Linked DNA regions of Homo sapiens: all the other regions are linked to region 1. Evidence: promoter capture Hi-C in 16 types of primary human blood cells and fetal thymus (Javierre and others, 2016). All regions are on one chromosome and are shown on one strand. The core of a region is centred on a gene start or on the middle of the fragment in contact, and the rest is flanking DNA. Distances in the headings are between cores, read along the strand shown.

Region 1 (2,799 bases), core at 175-2,674:
GAAAATCTGCCTGCAGAGTCTAGAGGTACCCCCGACACACACTCAGAAACATACATACCAGCTAAGGCAGGCACACACATTGATACCCATCAACACAGGTTACACACAAGAGAACACAGATTCACACCCCTTCCCAGTACACAGGTGCACACACACCTATCCACATACACTCCATTCTGCTCTTACACACCCACCTTCCTCAGTACCTACACACCTCTTTCCCGTGAACCCCTCTCCCAGTACACACACATAGACATACACGCCCTCCCCTAAGTATACATATAAACACATATCCAAACACACAGCAGATGCATGGTCAGCCGCTCCCTGGGTGCACACACACTCAAGCACAGAAAAACACCTACACATCCAAACCAGGGGCCCACCTGCAGGAACATGCAGCACGTCAAGGCGTGCACACACACCAAAACAAAGAATCATGCACACGGATCCTCCACCAACCCTTCAAAACTCACTAACGCAGAGCCCACAGTCCCCCAGATGGGTAAATATGAGTGGGGAGAGGGATGCCAGCGCCTGTCCCCTCGGCCCCTATACACAGTCTACCGCCTCCAGCCCCATCCTCGGTCTGTACATACACCCTATCTACTCTGCCCAACCCGCCCCCCTGACTCCACTCTACACCCTTAACGCATACCTGCCTCCGTCCCTCCCCACGCTCCTGAGGGGTGTATGCACCCCAAAACACCCTTGGCTTCCAATACCTCCAGACTCCGATCCTTCCACGCCTCTCCCCCCACCTCCAACACAAGCTCCCCGTCTCCGGCTTCAACCGGCTCCCCTGGGATCATTAAGGCCCCCGCCCGGGCCCAGGAAAGTCCCCGGCTCTCCAGGCCTGGGCTCCGCCCCCTCCCCACGAGCCCCTTCCCCTCCCCAAAGTTGGGGGGGGTACTCCGCTGTGCAGTGGGGAAGCGGACCGGAAGGGGGTTGCCCGGAGTCCAGCCCCCCTTCCCCCATAAGCCACCCCGCTCGCTCTGGGGTCGGGCACCCCCTGGCCCCTTGCATGATTTTCCTCCTTTTCCATTTCTTTTTTTCTCTCTCTTTCTTTCTTCTTTTTTTTTCAAACTTTGCCCGCGCCCCCGCGGCCCGGCACTCACCCGCCGCTGCGAACTGCCGGGTGGGCTCCGCGGGCGCCCCGCTCGGCCCGTCGCCTTTGTATCCGCAGCGCTCCGGGTCGCTCCGAACTCGGCGCTCCTGGACAGGCAGCGCGCGCGATGGGGGATGTTGAGGGGGGGGTTCTTGAGTCTGGTCACCCCCTGCTCCGTCCCAGACCGCTGCCTCTTCCCCCTCAAGGCCCCGGGGGCTGGGGGCCAGGGGGGAATAGGGGGCGCTCAGGCTCCCATGGCGGGACCAAGGATCAAGGAATCAAGGATCAGGAATCAGATCGGGAGCCGGCGGCGCAGGGGGGAGGGGGCGGAGGGGGAGGGGATGAGGGTGGGGGGTGCAGGGGGCGGGGGAGCGCGAGCTCCCGGGTGCCGCCTCCCGGCTGTTCCCACAGCCGCCGCCCCTCCTACCGCCGCGTCCATTGTCTGCGGCCCCGCTCTTCCCGGAGTCGCCGCTCCCCCAGCCCTGCGCCTTCAGATGCCCAGCGGCCCTCCCCGATCCTGGGAATCCGCGGTGGGGCTGACACTCGGGTCCCGAACGGTGGGCAGGGGAATGCCTCGATTCTTGGACTTGGCCCAGCCCGCAGTCCCTCCTGGGGCTGTCTTCCTGGACCCCTCCTGTCGGAGAAGGAGCCCCCAGATCCCTGGGGCTGGCCATATTCTCTTTAGGGCCACGGACCCGACTACACAAAATCCAATGGAATCTGGGACGTGGGAAGATTGATTTTTTTTTTCCCCCTAGGGGTCCGAGAAGGGAGGGTCATCCCTGATTTTAATTAGTGGCGAGAGGCGCACGCCTCTTCCCATGCATACGGGGATTTCCCTGACACCATCACCACCATATCCCCTCCTTCCAAAAATAATTTAATTACTTGGAGTTCTAGCTGCGAGCAGCGACCGCCCCAGTCAGTCTGGGACGCTCCCTCATTAACACATTTTTCCTCCCCTCTGGTTTGAGTGTTGGGATTAATTACAAAGGGAACCCTGCCTTAGGGAAGAAGGGGAGGAGGAAAAGACGCGGGCGCCTGGGAGTTTGAATGGCAGAGGAGAGGGGGCCTTCTCCCAGGAAACCTCCAAGAGGAAAAATGCCTTGGCCAGTTGGGTCCCCAACCCCAAGCAGGCAGATTGTCCATCCCAGGAGTTTCAGATACTTTAGAGTTGAAGGTGCCACACAGGGATTGTAGGATCTCACAAAATATCCTACACGTTTGGGGCATTTGTGCCTCCCAGTATGCCAAGAAACCAGTTAGGGTTCTTTTACATGTGACCCTACAAGAGTGAACCCACACCGTAAAAGCCTGGGCTGTGGGAAGTCCATGTTCCCCTTGGAGTAAGTGAAAGCAGTATTCAATTATCATTAATGTTATTGCCGTGCAACCCGCCACTTAGAGTAGTATCATTTCAAAAGCATCTTCACATACTTCTCCCTAAGCAGGCCAAGGCCTTTTCAATATCTCAGCCTCCTTCAGTTTCCAATCCTGGCACCTGCTTGAACAACCCTGTGATTAAGGAATCCCAGAGAAAGAGACTCCCAGCCTCTGTTCCTCACTTGTTTGGGAATTTTTGCTCCTCCCTGATGAAAACTATTTCCTGAGACCTAATCTCACCCCTTTTGATGGTTCATTCTAACCTGTCCAAAGATGAGGACAGAACCAACTATGCTGCATTGTTCAAA
Region 2 (2,913 bases), core at 298-2,797, 210 kb after region 1:
TAAGCCTTCCAGCTTAGCGTTCAACCCTGATTTTCTCTGCTGTGGGCACAGCTTGCAGCTCTACCCCCACTCAGCACAGACTCAGGTACTGTGATTCTCAGAGGGGTGGGGAAGGGAGGCGGTTGGCAGGTGGATGGCCAGGGATACTGAGCACTCAGGATAAAAATACTCGGCTCATTAATCAGATGGCAGGTTCTAGCACCCAGCAGGGGTGCACAAAATGAGAGCCTGTGGTTCTGGTGTCTCACCCTGAAATGCTCCAAGCTCTGGACAAGCTGAGGCCAGAGAAGGGGCCACAGGAGCTTGGACAAGAAAACTCACATCCCATTTCCTAAAGGTGTGTGTGTATGAACACATTCCCAAACATAGGTTTTTTTTCTTTTCTTATGATAACTTCTTTCTCCTTTGGGCCTGAAGTCATTTTGGAGGTGAGGAGACTTTTCCCACAAAAAGAAGATTGGGGAAGACATTCTGACACCTCCTGCAACCATAAGAATTTTCCAGTGAGGGCATCCAGCTTATCCAATGGAGACAAATGGGGAATTAGGGAGGGGGAAGGAAGAGAGAGGGGACTGGGAGTCCAATGGGAGGCATGATCTCTAGGAGATATTTAAACATGGCATGCAAGTATCATAACATTTACATTTACACTCAGTTTGGATCTCTTTGGGGTGCAGCCCCTGAAGTATGTGGAGAGGACGTGTTCTGGCTAAGCAGATGGGTGGGGTAGGGGAGTGCAATATACACTGCTGTTCTCCCCTGGCCCTCCAAGTACCTCCCTTTTTCACCCTCAGTGTCCTAGCCAAACCTAAGTCAAATACTACCAGCCTCCTATAGCAGGGAGGGGAGCTCTTCCTGCAGCACCCCTGCTAAAGGTTTCCTGACGCTGATAGTACTTTTGGGTTCCTGAGACTCTGTTTCTCATTTGACTAAAGCCACATGCCACTTGCATCCTGTTGGTCAGGACAGGGTTCCTACCACACTGCCCCTCACCCCCAGATCCCATCCTCAAAGAGCTACATGGGTGTAGGATAGGGGATTCCGGAGAGGGGCTAGACATGCTCTGCAGGCCTGCAGTGCCCCCAACTCACCTCCAGGATCAGCTCCTCCATCTCAAATTGTCTTTGTGAGGCCTTGTCATCCTCGGGGGGTTCATGGTAGAGGAGTGCCAGCACCTCATACTTCTTGAACACATTCTTGTAGTTCTTTGCATTGACATTGATCACACGGTCCACACCATCGTACTCAGGGAAGTCCAGCCCTTCCTGCCCCTGTACCCCTGACTTGGGTGTCCCTAGCACCAGCAGCAACAGCAGTGCCAGCCGCAGACCCGGCACAGCTCTGGGCCCCATCCTGTCTGTAGCACTCATGGAGGTAGTGGGATCTGGGTTGGCTCTCCTGGTCCAGAAGAGGTTAGCTGGGGTAGGGAGGGGCCCCTGGGTCCCAGATTCTGAGTTAGGGGCTCAAGTGGGAGGGGGGATTGGGGAATGGCCCAGAGCAGTGGACAGAGGGCACTGCTGGGTCCTGGAGAAACTGCCGACAGAGCCAAGGGAAAAAGGGTCAGGTGGAGGAATAGGAGCAGGGGGCGGGGAGGGAACCGGAGCTGCCCCCTGAAATTGGCACCCCTCAGTCCCCACCTGGTCCTGTCTAAATATGTCTCCATGGTTGGCAGGAGAGACGGATAACCTTCTGAGGCCAGGACAGCTCCATGCGGGCCGGAATCCTCCCACCTCCTACACTTCTACCCCAGGCTCCCAGGGGCTCCTTCCCTCCCCCTCCTCCAGTGTCCAGGGCACCTCAGCCCCGGTCCCCACACTGGCCTAAGAGCTCATCGCCATATTAAGAAAGGAAAAGGAGAGATGCCGGAGCTAAAAATAAGACCAGATGAGTCGGAGGTAAATGAAGCTGGGGCTGGGGGAGGGGAGGTATAAGGGTAATTAGGGTGGGCCGAGGGTGGGGCAAGGGTAATTAGAAGTTAAATGCAGTGGAGAGGAGGAGCTAACTGGGTCAGAGGCTAAATTGATAATATAGGACAAAAGGGGGACAAATGTGGTATTGGCTCTATGTCCTAAAGCCTGGGAATCTTCTGTAGGTGAAGTCTGATTCTGATTCTTTGATACTATGTAGGAGAGTGGGGCGATAAAAGTGCAAGCCAGGCTGCAGGAAAGAGACCCCCTCCACTTTCTTTTAAAGAACCAGGACCAAGGATGAGGTCATTCTCTGAATAAAAGATGGAGCCGCGTCCAAGACTGGCAACCTGGCTCAGCTCCAGCCAGTTTCCTTTGCTTCACTCAGCACTCCTAACTTGGGAATGCAGGGAAGGACAGGGCTGGCCCAGATCCTGTCCTGTAGAGATGTGGGTTTGGGGTTTCTCTGCCTATAAAGCCCACAATGAGAAGGGGTCTGTCCTTTGGTTGCCACCTGTGTGTGCACTCCCTACCCTGATCCTATGGGACTCGGTTTTCTGGGGCACAGTGGGAAGGGAGGTTTTCCCAGGCTGCATGCTTCCAAGGAGAGTGAATAGCTACTATTTATTCCCATGTCTTTGACAAGACAAAGAGGATCAGGTATTGACACCAGGGCAAAAAAAAATTAACATTAGGCAAGCATGAAGAGGTGAACCCTGTGCCCTGAACCAAGACTGATGATTAATTCTGTGCACCCGAGATCCAAAGCAGAGATGGGCGGGTAGGGGCTTAAACTTCTGGATCCAGCTTGGGGGGTGAGGACAGAGTAGTGAGTTTAACTCTGGATACGTAGGAAGGAAGGATCCTCTTCATGGCCCTCCAGGGTTCTTACTATGCACAGGTAAACTGAGGCATGAGGGAGACCATAGAGGGTCAGATCAAAGTCACATGCTGCCACTGCACCCTGAGGTATCTCTGATTCTAGAGGGACAGTGGTGTTTTTTTT
Region 3 (2,751 bases), core at 28-2,527, 200 kb before region 1:
GGAAACTTCCAGCTGAACTTTGTAATAATTTTGACTGAGTACGAATTGTCCTGGTCAGGATCTGTGGAGATGAATAGAAAGTGCAGATATGAGCACAGAAGCCACAGCAGGCAGGGAGGGGTGAGGCCTGAAAGCCCTGCTTGCCTTCTCAGCAGAGAGGCTAGTATCCCAGGGCAACATCCCAGCCCTGCATACCAGAGGCTTGGATATAAATTTGGCTCTTTGGGGAGCATGGCAGGAGTGAGACTGGCCTTGCTGGCTGTGTGGGAGTGGGGAGAGGCCTGTCACCACTGGCTTTCCCCCACTTCCCTGGCTACCTGTACAAAGCAGCAGAGGCAGCCATAATCCCCCTGGGAACATAACTCCATTGGCCTGAGAACCACACCCCCATACCGCACAGTTGCCACAGCAAGCCCTGTCCAAGGATAGTCTGAGCTCAGACATGCTCAACTCTGCCCCCACCTGATGGTCTTTTTCTGCCAGCCCTGGTAGCTGAAGACAAAAGACATAATCTTGTGGGAGCCCTATGGCCCTCCCATCACCTGAGAAACCCAAATACTTATCCAGGTGACCTTAGGGCAAGCTTGTATTCCCCCGTACTGCTGCAGCTGATGCTCTCTTGAAATCGCCACCTTCTGGCTGGAGGCCAATCAAGTCAAGCCATTATAGCAACTCATAACAAAATAGCCCTGCTCCAAGGAAGGAGAAAACAACAGCTAATTCCACCACTTGTAACGTCCTGGCTAACCAGAGGTCCTGAGTCTGTCCATGTGACAACTTCACTGTTAGCATAACCAGCATTTGAGAAAACCTGTGCACTAAACAAAACTACAACCAAGGACTCTCACAGAATCCACTTCACTGCCCTGCTACCTTCACTGGAGTAGGTGCTCGTATCCGTGGTTGAGAGACCTGAAAATAGATCACAACACAGGACTCTTTGCAGACACTCCCCAGTACCAGCCTGGAGCCTGGTAGGTCCACTAGGTGGCTAGACCCAGAAAAGCAATAACAATCACTGCAGTTCAGCTCTTGGGAAGCCCCATCTGTAGGGGAAAGGGGAGAGCACCACATCAAAGGATCACCCTGTGGGACAAAAGAATCTGAACAGCAGCCCTTGAGTCCTAGACCTTTCCTCTGACATAATTGACCCAAATGAGAAAGAACCAGAAAAACAATTCTGGCAATATAATTAAACAAAGTTCTATCACACCACCAAAAGATCACACTAGCTCACCAGTAATGGATTCAAACCAAGAAGAAATCTCTGAATTGCCAGAAAAAGAATTCAGAAGGTTGATTATTAAGCTACTCAAGTAGGCACCAGAGAAAGGTGAAAACCAACTTAAAGAAATTTTTAAAATAATACAAGATATGGACAAAAACACTGTAAAGAAATAGATATTATAAATAAAAAACAATAAGAACTTCTGGAAATAAAAGACATGCTTAGAGAAATGCAAAATACACTGAAAAGTTTTAACAATAGAATGGAACAAGTAGAAGAAAGAACCTCAGAGCTCAAAGACAATGCTATTGAATTAATCCAATCTAACACAGACAAAGAAAAAAGTTTTTTTTAATGAACAAAGCCTCCAGCCAATTTGGGATTATGTTAAATGACCAAACCTAAGAATAATTTGTGTTCCTGAGGAACTCAAAGAACACCCAGGAAATTCATTGCAAAAAGATAATTACCTAAACACACAGGTTTAGGTAATCTAAACCATCAGGTTATCTAAAGTCAAGATGAAGGAATGAATCTTAAGAGCTGTGAGGCAAAAGCATCAGGTATCCTATAAAGGAAAACCTATAAGATTAACAGCAGATTCCTCAGCAGAAATCCTACAAGCTAGAAGGGATTGGGGTCCTATCTTTCATATCCTTAAACTAAGTAATTATCCTTACTTTAGCCTCCTTAAAAGAATAATTATCAGCCAAGAATTTTGTATCTGGCAAAACTAAGCTTCATATATGAAGGGAAGATAAAGTCTTTTTCAGACAAGCAAATGCTGAATGTATCACTACCAAGAGAATTTGCCACTACAAAGTCAGCACTATAAGAACTGCTAAAAGGAATTCTAAATCTTGAAACAAAACCTCAAAATACACCAAAATAGAACCTTCTTAAAACATAAATCTCACAGGACCTATGAAACAATAACACAATGAAAAAAAAAACCAAGCAATTCAGGCAACAACTAGCACAATGAATAGAATAGTACCTCATATCTCAATACTGACATTAAAAGTAAATGGCCTAAATGCTCCACTTACAAGATCCAGAGTGTCAGAATGAATAAGAATTCACCAACCAAGTATCTGCTGTCTTTAAGAGACTTGCCTAACACATAAGGACTAACATAAACTTAAGGTAAAGGGGTGGAAAAATATATTGCATTCAAATGGACACAAAACTGAGCAGGAGTAACTATTCTTATATCAGACCAAACAGACTTTAAAGCAAGAATAGTTTTAAAAGACAAAGAGGGACAATCCATAACAATAAAAGGACTAGTCCAGCAGGAAAATATTACAATCCTAAATATATATGCATCTAACACTGGAGTTCCCAAATTTATAAGACAATCACTGCTAGATGTAAGAAATGAAATAGGAACACAATAATAGTGGGGGGCTTCAATACTGCACTGACAGAACTAGAAAGCATCAAGACAGAAAATAAAGAAACTATACCCTAGAATAAATGGACTTAACAAATACTTACAGCACATTCTACTCAACAACAAC
Region 4 (2,735 bases), core at 118-2,617, 230 kb before region 1:
GGGAGGAGCAGATACAGCTGGGTCTTGCTCTGTATTATCTTGTAGGTGATAGGAACTAATAAAGAGTTTTAGATAGAGGAGTGACACCATCAGTCTTGCTTTTCAAAGAGGAACTCCAGTAGTATAGAGAACAGACTGGGGCAGGGAAGTGGGGAAGAAAGAGAAACCAGTTCCTGGGGGCCATTATTGCAGTCATCCATCAAAATGATGGGACCCGAGCCAAAGCAGCAACTGTCAGTTAACAAAGACATTTTTCCTAGGGCATACAAAGGAAAACCCCAGCCTTGGGATGAAAGGGTGGGGTCCGAGGGTTTATTAGAGGTTGCTTTGCCATCTGTCATCAGGACAGTGATTTTAAGACATTTTTCATTTTCATTAATGAAAACCTCACAGCGGTTAATGGTGTGATGAGACGGAATGCAATGTGATGTGAGCACTGAATCTTGACAGGACTCACTTAAGCGAAACTGTGCAAAAACTTATATGTTCCTTGAAATCTTTTTCTTTAGGTGACATTTGTTCAGGTCATGTATTCATCCTTGTTCCAATTGCCATTTCAGTGTGTTAATGTCTATCATAATGAAGCATCTTTATTGCAAAGTCCAATTCTTAGGGTGCTATGAAGTACTCTGGCTAGGTCATGTGAAGCCAGTGGATGTGGGTCAGCTGTGGACAGTGTGTGACTTGCTGCCATCCTCGATGACTGTATTCTGAAATAGATATGGCTGTGCTAGAATGAAGGAATCTAGAAAGGAATGCCCCTGGAAGCTCATCTTGAAGAGAGGATCTTTTTCAGCAGATCAGCAAACCGCTGGCTCAGCACCTCTGAGTTAGCTCAGTGAAAGAAAAGGCTGACGCCTGCCAGTGAGCTCCGGAGGCTTCCCCTTTCTAACAAGGTCATTTCTTCAAATAGGGAGTTCCCATTGTTTCAGAGTCACTTAGATGTTCCAGGCACTAAGACAGGTCTCTCTCTAGGGTCTTCCCAATTTAGCGAGCGTAAAAACAATGGTGGAAAGGAAAAACCTGGAAACTTTGCACAGCCCAGAGCCTGGTCATGGGCCACACCCGCTATAAGGGAAGCTGAGACACATAGCTCCTAGCTGAGCAGCTACATGCCCAGAAAAGACTCGTATTACCACGAAAGCATGAGCGCAATCTCACTGGAGCTAGTAGCCTCTGCAATGCTGGGTGGGATAGGCAGGTTGTAAGTGATTTTTCTGGAAGCTGTGAACTCCGTAAAAATGTTTACTTGGATGGTCCCAGAACTTAAATTAGTATATGGTTCATGAGGATCCTTCCCCACCCCCAGTTCTGAATGGAAACTGCCACGAACAAGAATGTATCTCTTGAAGATGGCAGCCTTTGCTGACAGAACCACATGAAAGGCAGGAAGGAGATCCGGCACGCTCCCACCGTTACGCTAACGTCGCAGTATCTCCTAGGTGAACTGCATTTGTTTCTCAGATTCTTTTTAGTTTTCTTTTTCATCTTCCCTAAAAAAAATATTAATAATAAGATTTTGGGACTTGAGAAGAGAGAGAGAGAGAGAGACACGCTTCTGTGTTTCTGTGACAACACTTTCAGAGACAAGAAAAAAAACGCCCTCTGGCTTTTTCCTTGGATGTGTGACTGTCTGCCAAGTTATCACGTTTAAACCACAGACAATAGGTGGAGAGGGCCCAGGGTGGAGACTCGAGCAAAGCACTCTTCCCAAATGGCATGTGAGTTATTGACCAGCCTGCTCGGCCGCCTCTAAGAGCCTCGGGAGTAGGGGGAGTTCCAAACCTCTGGTTCAGAAATGTTCAGGTAGCATTTCTTTGTGAATGAAGGAGTCAGGAGCTTCTAGACCCCAAGACAACTTTGATTTCTCAGCATCACCATCCAGAGAGGCCTCACTACATGACTGAGCAAAGAGAAGAAGAGCTGGAGCTTCTGCCACAGGAAATGGTGGTTTGAAAATGGGAGCACAGGTGAAGCGCCGATGGCACAGACACACACTTGCCTCCTGGCTCCATCTTGTTATTGTAAAGTATAAGCCAAGTGGGTCACTTCTCCTTCCCTTTGATTCCTGCCTTGGGCCATTCAGCAGGTGACCCTGCATTCCTTCTGGTAATTTTTAAACAGAAAGCTACGTGACAGTCTTTTTCTAGATCCATTTTTGTGGACTCTCATTTAATTTAACTTAGTTCATCGAGTGCATATTGAGTGCCCTCCTGCCCTATATTGTTTCCGGTGGAATGGAGGATACAAATAAAGAATAAGGTACAGGGCCTACCTTCATGGAATTTGCAATCAAAGTGGGACTTCTACATCTTACTAGCTAGAAAAATATAATATTTAAAGAAACATATTATAATCAAGGAACTGCTACTAGAATTCCTCTTTGAAAAGGAATTGTATTTGTTTATGATAGTACCTTAATAAATGCTAGAAGGCAGGTGGAGACCCCCCAGGAATCTGGGTGTGGGTTGGATGGTTCTGTATGAGAATGGAGGAAGATGATACTTGTGCAGAAATGGGAAGAGAAAGAGAGAGTCTGAACCTGCTAGGTGGTGAAAGCTGCCTGGTTCACAATGGAATTTGCTCCCTGGGACCCTTCAATCTTCAGCAGAGAACTTAAACCCACAAAATTATTGGTGTAAGTTTTTAAAAAAAAGTTTTTTTGGTTTGTTTGTGGAAACTGATTGTATTAGTCCGCTCTCATCCTGCCAATAAAGACATACCTGAGACTGGGT
Region 5 (2,700 bases), core at 83-2,582, 240 kb after region 1:
AGAGAAATAGCTTGGGCTCCCTTGAAGATGCATGAGAACCCAAAGAGAAGTCTGTGCCACAGCCATGTCAAGGTCTACGGTGATGAGACATGGGAGGCAAGGGTAAAGGTTAAAGTTATGCTACTAATTTGCAAATTGGTCTAAGGCAAAGGTTAAAAGTCTAGGGTAAAGGTTAAAGGGCAAATTGATCTAGGGTAAATGCTATCGGTCTGTGAATTGCTGAGAAATTCCTCAACTGAAAGTCCTTCCGCCCAGCTCCTTCTACCTAGCTCCACCTTCTTGGCCACATGTTGGGTTTTTTTAGCCTCCTACAAAACCATTTTCTATCTAAACAGACCCTTGCTTCCCAGTCGAAATGCCACCATCCACTTTCCTCCATACCCTTTATCTGAACATATACTTAGCTGATGAAAACCCTACTTTGTAAGGGTAAATTTGGGCAAATTTTTTCCTAAAATCTAATAGTAGACATCTAGTGTTTTTGGGGAAAGCTTGCTAACTTGCTTCTGTCCAATCAATTTTAAAACATTTTTAATATATGTATTTTATTTTCTAGTTGGATTCTTTCTCATAGTCTATTCTGTCTTAACATTACGCTTCTTCTTTAAGGTATTTTCAAATTAAATAGCAATCTTTCAGCACAGAGCAGGGTCTGTGGAAGGAGCACGAGATATGGAGACAGACCTACATTAGAATCCCTGACCCGCCTCCTTTCTATTGAGTTGTACTCTTGGATATGGTGCTTAATTTCTTTGAACCTTAGTCTGCTACATGTAAAATAGGGATAATATCTGGTATTGTGCGCATGTGGGAATTAGAGATAATATTTATAATATTTAACAAATACTATGCATTCAAATAAAAAATATTTCTAGGCTGGGTATGGTGGCTCACGTCTGTAATCCCAGCACTTTGGGAGGCCGAGGAGGGCAGATCACTTGAGGTCAGTAGTTCGAGACCAGCCTGGCCAACATGGTGAAAACCCATCTCTACTAAAAATACACAAAATAACTGGGCGTGGTGGTGGGCACCTGTAATCCCAGCTACTCGGGAGGCTGAGGCAGGATAATTGCTTGAACTTGGGAGGCAGAGGTTGCAGTGAGCTGAGATCACACCACTGCATTCCAGCCTGAGCAACAGAGAGAGACTCTGTTTCAAAAAAACACAAAACAAACAAAAGAACTATTTTTAGATAACCAAACATTTGTTCTTAAGCATGAATAATAGTTTTCAAGTGTGCTCCATGGAGTCTTCAGGCCTCCTTAAGGGGAAAGGGCAAAGGAGAGATTGACAGAATGATGTTCAGTCCCTTTTTATTACCACTTTGCCAGAACTGTCTCCCAGTTCAAGGATTCCTAGATTCTAGGAGCAAAGCCAAAGTTTAAGTGGTAAAGTCTAAGTGGCACCTCTGGTAATTCAAGTTTCCAATGCCAATATCTTCTCTTGGATAGGGGACTAGTTAGAAGTTAGGGCTTACCTTAAGAGAAGAATGACTTAGCAGGGCTGAACAATTTTCCTCCCCTCTGTGCCATTTTCAGCTTAAACAGCATAGTCCATTCACAAGCTAAAATAATAGCTAATAATTGTAGGTCACTTACAATGTATTAGGTCTTGTGCTGGGCATTTTACATATATTATCTCAATTCACACGAAAATCTACAGAGTAACGACTTTTACTGTCATCACTGTGCGAATGTGGAAATGATGACCTTGACCTTTCACCAGAGGTCATACAGCTCGTGATGGAGAAGCTCGACTTTTTACTGGCTCTTACCTACCTCGCTACCTTTAGAAGACAGTTATTAAAATCTTTATGTTTTGGTGCCTGCTTTTGAATCTATGCTACTTATGGTTCGATATTCACCTTCCACACAGTTGGTGGAAAAGAAGCAGATGTTTCGGGTCTCCAGAGGGTTCTCATGGGTGAAGTCAGGGGAGCGGCTCTGGGGTTCTGACTCCCCAGTCAAGGATGAGTTGTCCACCTGGGATGGGAGAGGGGACGCGTTGTAAGGTGAGCATAGGAAAAAAGGCAGATTTATTTACAAAAATAGTATGTCTTCATCTGGTCACCAACATCATCACTGACAGACTGAGAGAAACAAATTTACACATCTGTTGTCTCTAACATCAAATCTGCACTTGTAACTTCTCAAGATTCTGAGTAATAAGCTTATACTTTCTCTAACGGCCCAGGTGTCTACCCTGCCATGAGATCACGCTTGGGTCCCTCACATAGCTTTCGGCATCCCCTCACCTTACATCCTTGTGCAGAGATAAGCCGGAGGTCAGCAGGGACTCGGTCTCCACCCTTGATTTCCACCAGGTCTCCCAACACCACCTCTTGTACATTAATTTGCATCTTCTCTCCTCCTCGAATTACCAGAGCTTGCTATGAGAGGATAGTGCAGGATCATTTCCAAAACTTTTGGCTTTCCTCATCCCACTCTTAGCCTAAAACCTTCTGTTATTGGTCTCCCTCCTCCTTACTCCCCTTTCTTACTGTCACCCACCACATCATTCTTGAAGGTGTCTTTGGCAGATTGCAAATTCCCATGATGCTGTTTGCAGGGCCCTTTGCAATGTGACTTTGACGCTCTTCCCATTAAGAGGTGGAGTCTATCTCTCTACCCCTAAACCTGGGCTTGACCACGTGACTTGCTTTGGCCCATAGAATGAATGTGATGGAAAGAGGAGTTTAAA
Region 6 (2,990 bases), core at 1-2,500, 180 kb before region 1:
CTATTGCTTTAATAATTCTTTCTTTCTTCTCTTTTCTTTCAGTTATAGTTGTTTTCCAGAGTTTTATTCTTATGTTTTGTTTTTTAATTTACCCTTTATCTAGTATAGAGAATTTTTCAACATGGAATTAAAGATAATTATGAATCAGGTACAACTGAAGACTATGAAAAGACTTGGAAATGAAAGCGTATTACCAAAGTTTAAAACTCAAGCAAATAGCTGAAAACTGTAAACATAGCTGAGAACCCATGTTTGGAAGACATTCTATAGGGTGTCTATAAGGAACTCTATCAGTATGTAAAGCAAGAAGACAAAGAGAAAATCAGGAGATATTAATTCAGCAATATAGAGGATAGCTTTAAATATTTAGGAGGACTTTTAGGAAGAGCAAGTAGAAAGGCCAAAAAGGAAGCCATAATCAAAGACACAGAAGAAAAATTCCCTTTGATAAAGAAAGATTTGAACCATCAGACTGAAAATACAACTGATTCCAGCCAGAAATATGCCATGCAAACACACCAGGACACATCCTTGTAAAATCTTGAATTTCTGTGATAAAGGGAAAATCTTAAGTGTTTCCAGATGGAAAAGTTAAAGAACAAGAATAAAACTAGTATATGTTTTCTTGTTGCAAACCTAAATGCTGGAACCAATTTAGAACTTTCATTTGGTTCCTTTCTGGGTTTTTATTTCTGTCCAGAAATACCAATCTCTTCAATCTCAGACTTCAAACATTTATGAAAAATGAAATTTAAAAAGAAAAACTAAAAATGTAAACTTTATTTCTCAATAGAAGCTCCATCAAGTTCAAAACACTTTTGAAAGTGATGATACCAACCATTTAGAACATCCCTGAAGGACTGAGTGTCCTGGATACTTAACTATGTTAATGTAGTATTTTTACATTATTAACTGAACAAAAATGGGTGTCCTTTAAAGATTTTTTAAAGATTAGGAAACAAAAAGAAGTCAGAAGGAGCCAAATCAGGACAGTAAAGTTGATCCTAAAGATTTCCTATTGAAAAATGAGCAGGAGCTTTGTTGTAGAGAAAGACTCTAGCAAAGCTTTTCTGGGCATTTTTCTGCTAAAGCTTTGCCTAACTTTCTCAAAATACTTTCATAATAAGCAAATGTTATTGTTCTTTGGTCCTTTAGAAAGTCAACAAACAAAATGCCTTGAGCATCACAAAAAACTGTTCCAATGACCTTTGCTCTTGACTGGTTCACTTTCGCTTTGACTGGACAGCTTCCACCTCTTGGTGGCCATTCCTTTGATTGTGCATTGTCTTCAGGATTATACTGATAAAACCAGGTTACATCTCCTGTTATAATTCTTTGAAGAAATGCTTCTACAAAGCATTTTCAAAGTGGGATCATCCTGCTTCTTTAAAATTTCCATTGAAAGCTTTGCTCTTGCCTTCAGCTGATCTGAGAGCAACAACTTTGGCACTCATTGAGTGATAAGTTCGCCCAATTTTAATTTCTCAGTCAGAATTGTGTAATTGGTTCAATACATGGAAATCAATAAACGTAATCCATCCCATAAACAGAACCAATGACAAAAACCACATGATTATCTCAATAGATGCAGAAAAGGCCTTTGAAAAAATTCAACAGCCTTTCATGCTAAAAACTCTCAATAAACTAGGTATTGATGGAACATATCTCAAAATAATAAGAGCTCTTTATGACAAACCCACAGCCAGTATCATACTGAATGGGGGAAAAAACTGGAAGCATTCCCTTTGAAAACCAGCACAAGGCAAGGATGCCCTCTCTTACCACTCCTATTCAACATAGTATTGGAAGTTCTGGCCAGGGCAATCAGGCAAGAGAAAGAAATACAGGGTATTCAGATAGGAAGAGAGGAAGTCAAATTGTCTCTGTTTGCAGATGACATGATTGTATATTTAGGAAACCTCATTGTCTCAGCCCAAAACCTCCTTAAGCTGATAAGCAACTTCAGCAAAGTCTCAGGATACAAAATCAATGTGCGAAAATGACAAGCATTCCTATACACCAATAACAGACAACAGAGAGCCAAATCATGAGTGAACTCTCATTCACAATTGCTACAAAGAGAATAAAATACCTAGGAATACAACTTACAAGGGATATGAAGGACCTCTTCAAAAACCACTGCTCAAGGAAATAAAAGAGGACACAAACAAATGGAAAAACCTTGCATGCTCATGGATAGGAAGAATCAGTATCATGAAAATGGCCTTACTGCCCAAAGTAATTTATAGATTCAATGCTCTCCCCATCCAGCTACCACTGACTTTCTTCACAGAATTGGAAAAAACTATTTTAAACTTCATATGGAACCAAAAAAAAGCCCACATAGTCAAGAAAATCCTGGGCAAGAAGAACAAAGCTGGAGGCATCATGCTACCTGACTTCAAACTATACTACAAGTCTACAGTAACCAAAACAGCATGGCACTGGTATCAAAACAGATATATAGACCAATGGAACAGAACAGAGGCCTCAGAAATAACACCACACATTTACTGCCATCTGATCTTTGACAAACCTGACACACACAAGAAATGGGGAAAGGATTCCCTATTTAATAAATGGTGTTGGGAAAGCTGGCTGGCCATATGCAGAAAACTGAAACTGGACCCCTTCCTTACACATTATACAAAAATCAACTGAAGATTGATCAAAGACTTAAACATAAGACCTAGGACCATAAAAATCCTAGAAGAAAACCTAGACAATACCATTCAGGACATAGGCATGGGAAAAGGCTTCATGTCTAAAACACCAAAAACAATGGCAAAAAAAGTTAAAATTGACAAATGGGATCTAATTAAACTAAAGAGCTTCTGCACAGCGAAAGAAACTATCATCATCATCAGAGTGAACAGGCAACCTACAGAATGGGAGAAGATTTTTGCAATCTGTCCATCTGACAAAGGGCTAATATCCAGAAGCTACAAAGAACTGAAAGAAATTTACAAGAAAAAAGGCAACAACCCCAT
Region 7 (2,778 bases), core at 250-2,749, 160 kb before region 1:
TGCAAGTTCCATAAAGGCAGGGACTTTGTATATTGTTTATCACTGTATTCCCAGCACCAACATCATCAGGTACATAGTGGATGCTCCAGAAGTATTTGTTGAAAAAGAATGAATGAATAGTATTATTCCCAGGTTTCACAGTGCTTAGCAATTGTGAATGTTCGATTAATATAAGATGATTGAATCAGTTTCTATACCGATGGACAGCATAGCGGAAAGAACGCTAATGTTGGGATTAGGCATACTTTGCCAGCTGTATGATCTTGGGCAAGTTGTTTAACCTCTCTGTTCCAAAGTTTCCTCACTTATAGAATGTAGATCGTAATTGATGGTATTAAATGAGATAATGGTAGTTGAGCTCCCTAGTATAGTGCCTGCCTTAAAGTAAATGCTCAATAACTAGTAATCATTAATTTTTTAATCCTTATCCCTTAAAAAAAATCTCATTATGAAGGACTTCCTAGATGAAGAAGGCTCTGAACTAGGCTTGAATAATGTAGTCAAAGAGCCATACCCAAATGTCAACCCTTTAGAAAATATTTAACTCATTCGAGAACTTTAGCTGAGAAAATAAAGATGGTATTCAATTTTAAGATATTGATTTTTAACCCTTTATATGTTTAATTTTGCCTACCCAATCTTCAGAAAGTCTTCTACCACGTGCAATTAGGACACAGTACAGTAATATCTTAGAGAAAGCTGTACTGTATATACAATAAAATCTGTACCTTATGGGTAGTTAGCTGGGAAAATAAAGAGAAGGAAACTAACATTTATTGAACATCATTTATGTGTTTGGCATTCTAATATCTATTTTAAAAATATATAGACTATACATATTTAAGCACTGTATGCACAAAAAGAGCAAAAGATAATACAATGAGATGTAACTCTCTCTTCTCAGAGGCAGTGGCTGTAGCCAGCTTCTTCTGTGTCTTCCATAGATAATTAATGTGCATACCAGCATAGACAGACAGATAGATGATAGATAAGTAAATAGGTAATTAGAATAATCTTTATCTTCAAAATCTCATTTAATCCTCACAACAATTGTATTTAGGGAAAAATTTTTACCCTCATGTTATAAATAAGGGAGCTGAAGCTCCATGAATCTGTATACCTTCTCCATTATTCCATAGCTAGAGAGCAGTAGAGCCTGGATTCTGAACCAGGTCTCCAGTGGCTTCCACAATCTTGGCTTGGGAGGATGAAGATCTGTCGGCCATGACTCTGACTTTCTCTTCCCAGCATCTTTGTGCAGGCAACACCTCTGTTCCTGCTGAGAAAAGTGAGATGGGATCCTCTTCTTTACCACTGTCCCCTACCTCAACACCTACCCCCAACAATTGGTAAACACCAAGCACTCCCTAGGCATTTTTGTAAATCAAATTTCTAAAGAAACACACACGCACACACACAAAATTTTGTTCACTTTCTACTAATTGATATCGTATCAGTCACTATTATAGTTAATCCAGGTCTGTACCCCAAACTTGTTTTGGGTTTATTCCAAGTCTTCACTAATTCTAATATGGAATAGATCCCTCTAAAAGATTGTTAGGACCAGAATTTCTGGCTAGCTTGGAATCAAACATTTTTACAGCTTCTTACTGTTCATGTTGAGTTCCTTCACAAACGCAAGATAATGGTTCTTATATCTTGTGTCTACACTTCTGAATTTATTGCCTTTCTAGTTGTGCACCAGTTCCTTCTGACTCCTCTATTCCCTTCCTCACATAGCTACAGTGGAAGAAACAAACCCCACCACAGCAACTTTGCTGAGAGGGCGCTGAACTTATTAACTCCAAATGTGGTCATTTTCTTATTCCTGGTAAAAGAAAAGACCTTAACGCTTCCCCATGCCAGCTCCAGTCCTAGCTATCACTTGAATTATTATTGTTCTTTAGTAACCCTTTACTAGCCTTCAACTTTTATAGTTTACTTTTTGATTGCTTAAGTAAAAACATTTTAATGAACTTTTAAAGAAATTATAGCTTTCCACCATGGATAGTTTTTAAAAAATAAAGAAAATATACATACACCAGAAAACAGAATGAAAAAAAATTTTAAAGATTATTTTGGCTGGGTGCGGTGGCTCACACCTGTCATCCCAGCACTTTGGGAGGCCGAGGCGGGTGGATCACGAGGTCAGGAGATTGAGACCATCCTAGCTAACACGGTGAAACTCCATCTCTACTAAAAATACAAAAACAAAATTAGGCGTGGTGGTGGGCACCTGTAGTCCCAGCTACTCCTCGGGAGGCTGAGGCAGGAGAATGGCTTGAACCCAGGAGGCGGAGCTTGCAGTGAGCCGAGATCATGCCACTGCACTCCAGCCTGGGTGACAGAGCAAGACTCCGTCTCAAAAAAAAAAAAAAAAAGATTATTTCATGTAGTTGTGTGCTGATAAATATTTAATTAGCTCTTAATTGGGTGTGTGTATTCATATATATATATAAAATTTATGTTTAGTACAAATTTTATTGACTTGAAGGATGTGTAGCACACAGTTTCATTAATGATAATAAATATATAATAGTCTTTATTGTAAATTCTATATAGAATTTATTTTGCTGAGAGGGCACTAGAGGATAAATTCCAATTATTCTTACAGAATGCTTTCATTGATTTTTGCTAAGCATTTATATCCCTAATCAGCTTATAGTTGTAATTGATGTATGAGTATAGTTCCAACACAAACATCGGTTGATATTTTCATTTCAGTTAAATAATAAGAAAAAAGTGATTCAACAAAGACATATATATTGGAGCTTCATT

What was found. Contacts are between HindIII fragments. The CHiCAGO score rates a contact against its expected background, and 5 or more counts as called.
Region 2: the fragment with the promoter of CASQ1 here is called in contact with the fragment with the promoter of VANGL2 in region 1 in 1 of 17 cell types (M2 macrophages); the score reaches 5.0 in M2 macrophages.
Region 3: a fragment that was not itself captured here is called in contact with the fragment with the promoter of VANGL2 in region 1 in 12 of 17 cell types (fetal thymus, total B cells, naive CD4 T cells and 9 more); the score reaches 14.0 in fetal thymus.
Region 4: a contact is called between a fragment that was not itself captured here and the fragment with the promoter of VANGL2 in region 1, in 6 of 17 cell types (M2 macrophages, fetal thymus, M0 macrophages and 3 more). The highest score is 7.6, in M2 macrophages.
Region 5: a fragment that was not itself captured here is called in contact with the fragment with the promoter of VANGL2 in region 1 in 1 of 17 cell types (M2 macrophages); the score reaches 5.6 in M2 macrophages.
Region 6: a contact is called between a fragment that was not itself captured here and the fragment with the promoter of VANGL2 in region 1, in 3 of 17 cell types (total B cells, naive CD4 T cells and naive B cells). The highest score is 6.1, in total B cells.
Region 7: a contact is called between a fragment that was not itself captured here and the fragment with the promoter of VANGL2 in region 1, in 1 of 17 cell types (naive B cells). The highest score is 6.0, in naive B cells.

Annotation. Positions count from the first base shown.
Region 1 is chr1:160,399,189-160,401,987 of GRCh38, reverse strand. VANGL2 (VANGL planar cell polarity protein 2) reads right to left here and starts at 1,424. Exons shown (of 8, transcript NM_020335.3): 1 at 1,119-1,424. All of the region lies in intron 3 of LOC105371466 (a long non-coding RNA gene), which reads left to right. The HindIII fragment of the contact is 3,661 bases long and covers 1-2,799 here.
Region 2 is chr1:160,189,209-160,192,121 of GRCh38, reverse strand. It overlaps CASQ1 (calsequestrin 1), which reads right to left and starts at 1,547. Exons shown (of 11, transcript NM_001231.5): 1 at 1,092-1,547. The coding sequence starts at 1,370. The HindIII fragment of the contact is 15,704 bases long and covers 1-2,913 here.
Region 3 is chr1:160,603,694-160,606,444 of GRCh38, reverse strand. No RefSeq gene overlaps it. Among named protein-coding and RNA genes, the nearest start is that of CD84, 26 kb to the right of the region's middle. The HindIII fragment of the contact is 1,383 bases long and covers 586-1,968 here.
Region 4 is chr1:160,628,120-160,630,854 of GRCh38, reverse strand. All of the region lies in intron 3 of SLAMF1 (signaling lymphocytic activation molecule family member 1), which reads left to right. Among named protein-coding and RNA genes, the nearest start is that of SLAMF1, 18 kb to the left of the region's middle. RefSeq lists an enhancer at 1,106-1,195. The HindIII fragment of the contact is 6,126 bases long and covers 1-2,735 here.
Region 5 is chr1:160,158,691-160,161,390 of GRCh38, reverse strand. ATP1A4 (ATPase Na+/K+ transporting subunit alpha 4) reads right to left here. Exons shown (of 22, transcript NM_144699.4): 5 at 2,255-2,389; 6 at 1,865-1,982. Among named protein-coding and RNA genes, the nearest start is that of ATP1A4, 8.4 kb to the right of the region's middle. The HindIII fragment of the contact is 1,678 bases long and covers 494-2,171 here.
Region 6 is chr1:160,583,212-160,586,201 of GRCh38, reverse strand. No RefSeq gene overlaps it. Among named protein-coding and RNA genes, the nearest start is that of CD84, 5.2 kb to the right of the region's middle. The HindIII fragment of the contact is 314 bases long and covers 1,094-1,407 here.
Region 7 is chr1:160,554,685-160,557,462 of GRCh38, reverse strand. The region is part of intron 2 of CD84 (CD84 molecule); the gene reads left to right. The region is part of intron 1 of CD84-AS1 (CD84 antisense RNA 1); the gene reads right to left. Among named protein-coding and RNA genes, the nearest start is that of CD84-AS1, 19 kb to the right of the region's middle. The HindIII fragment of the contact is 6,836 bases long and covers 1-2,778 here.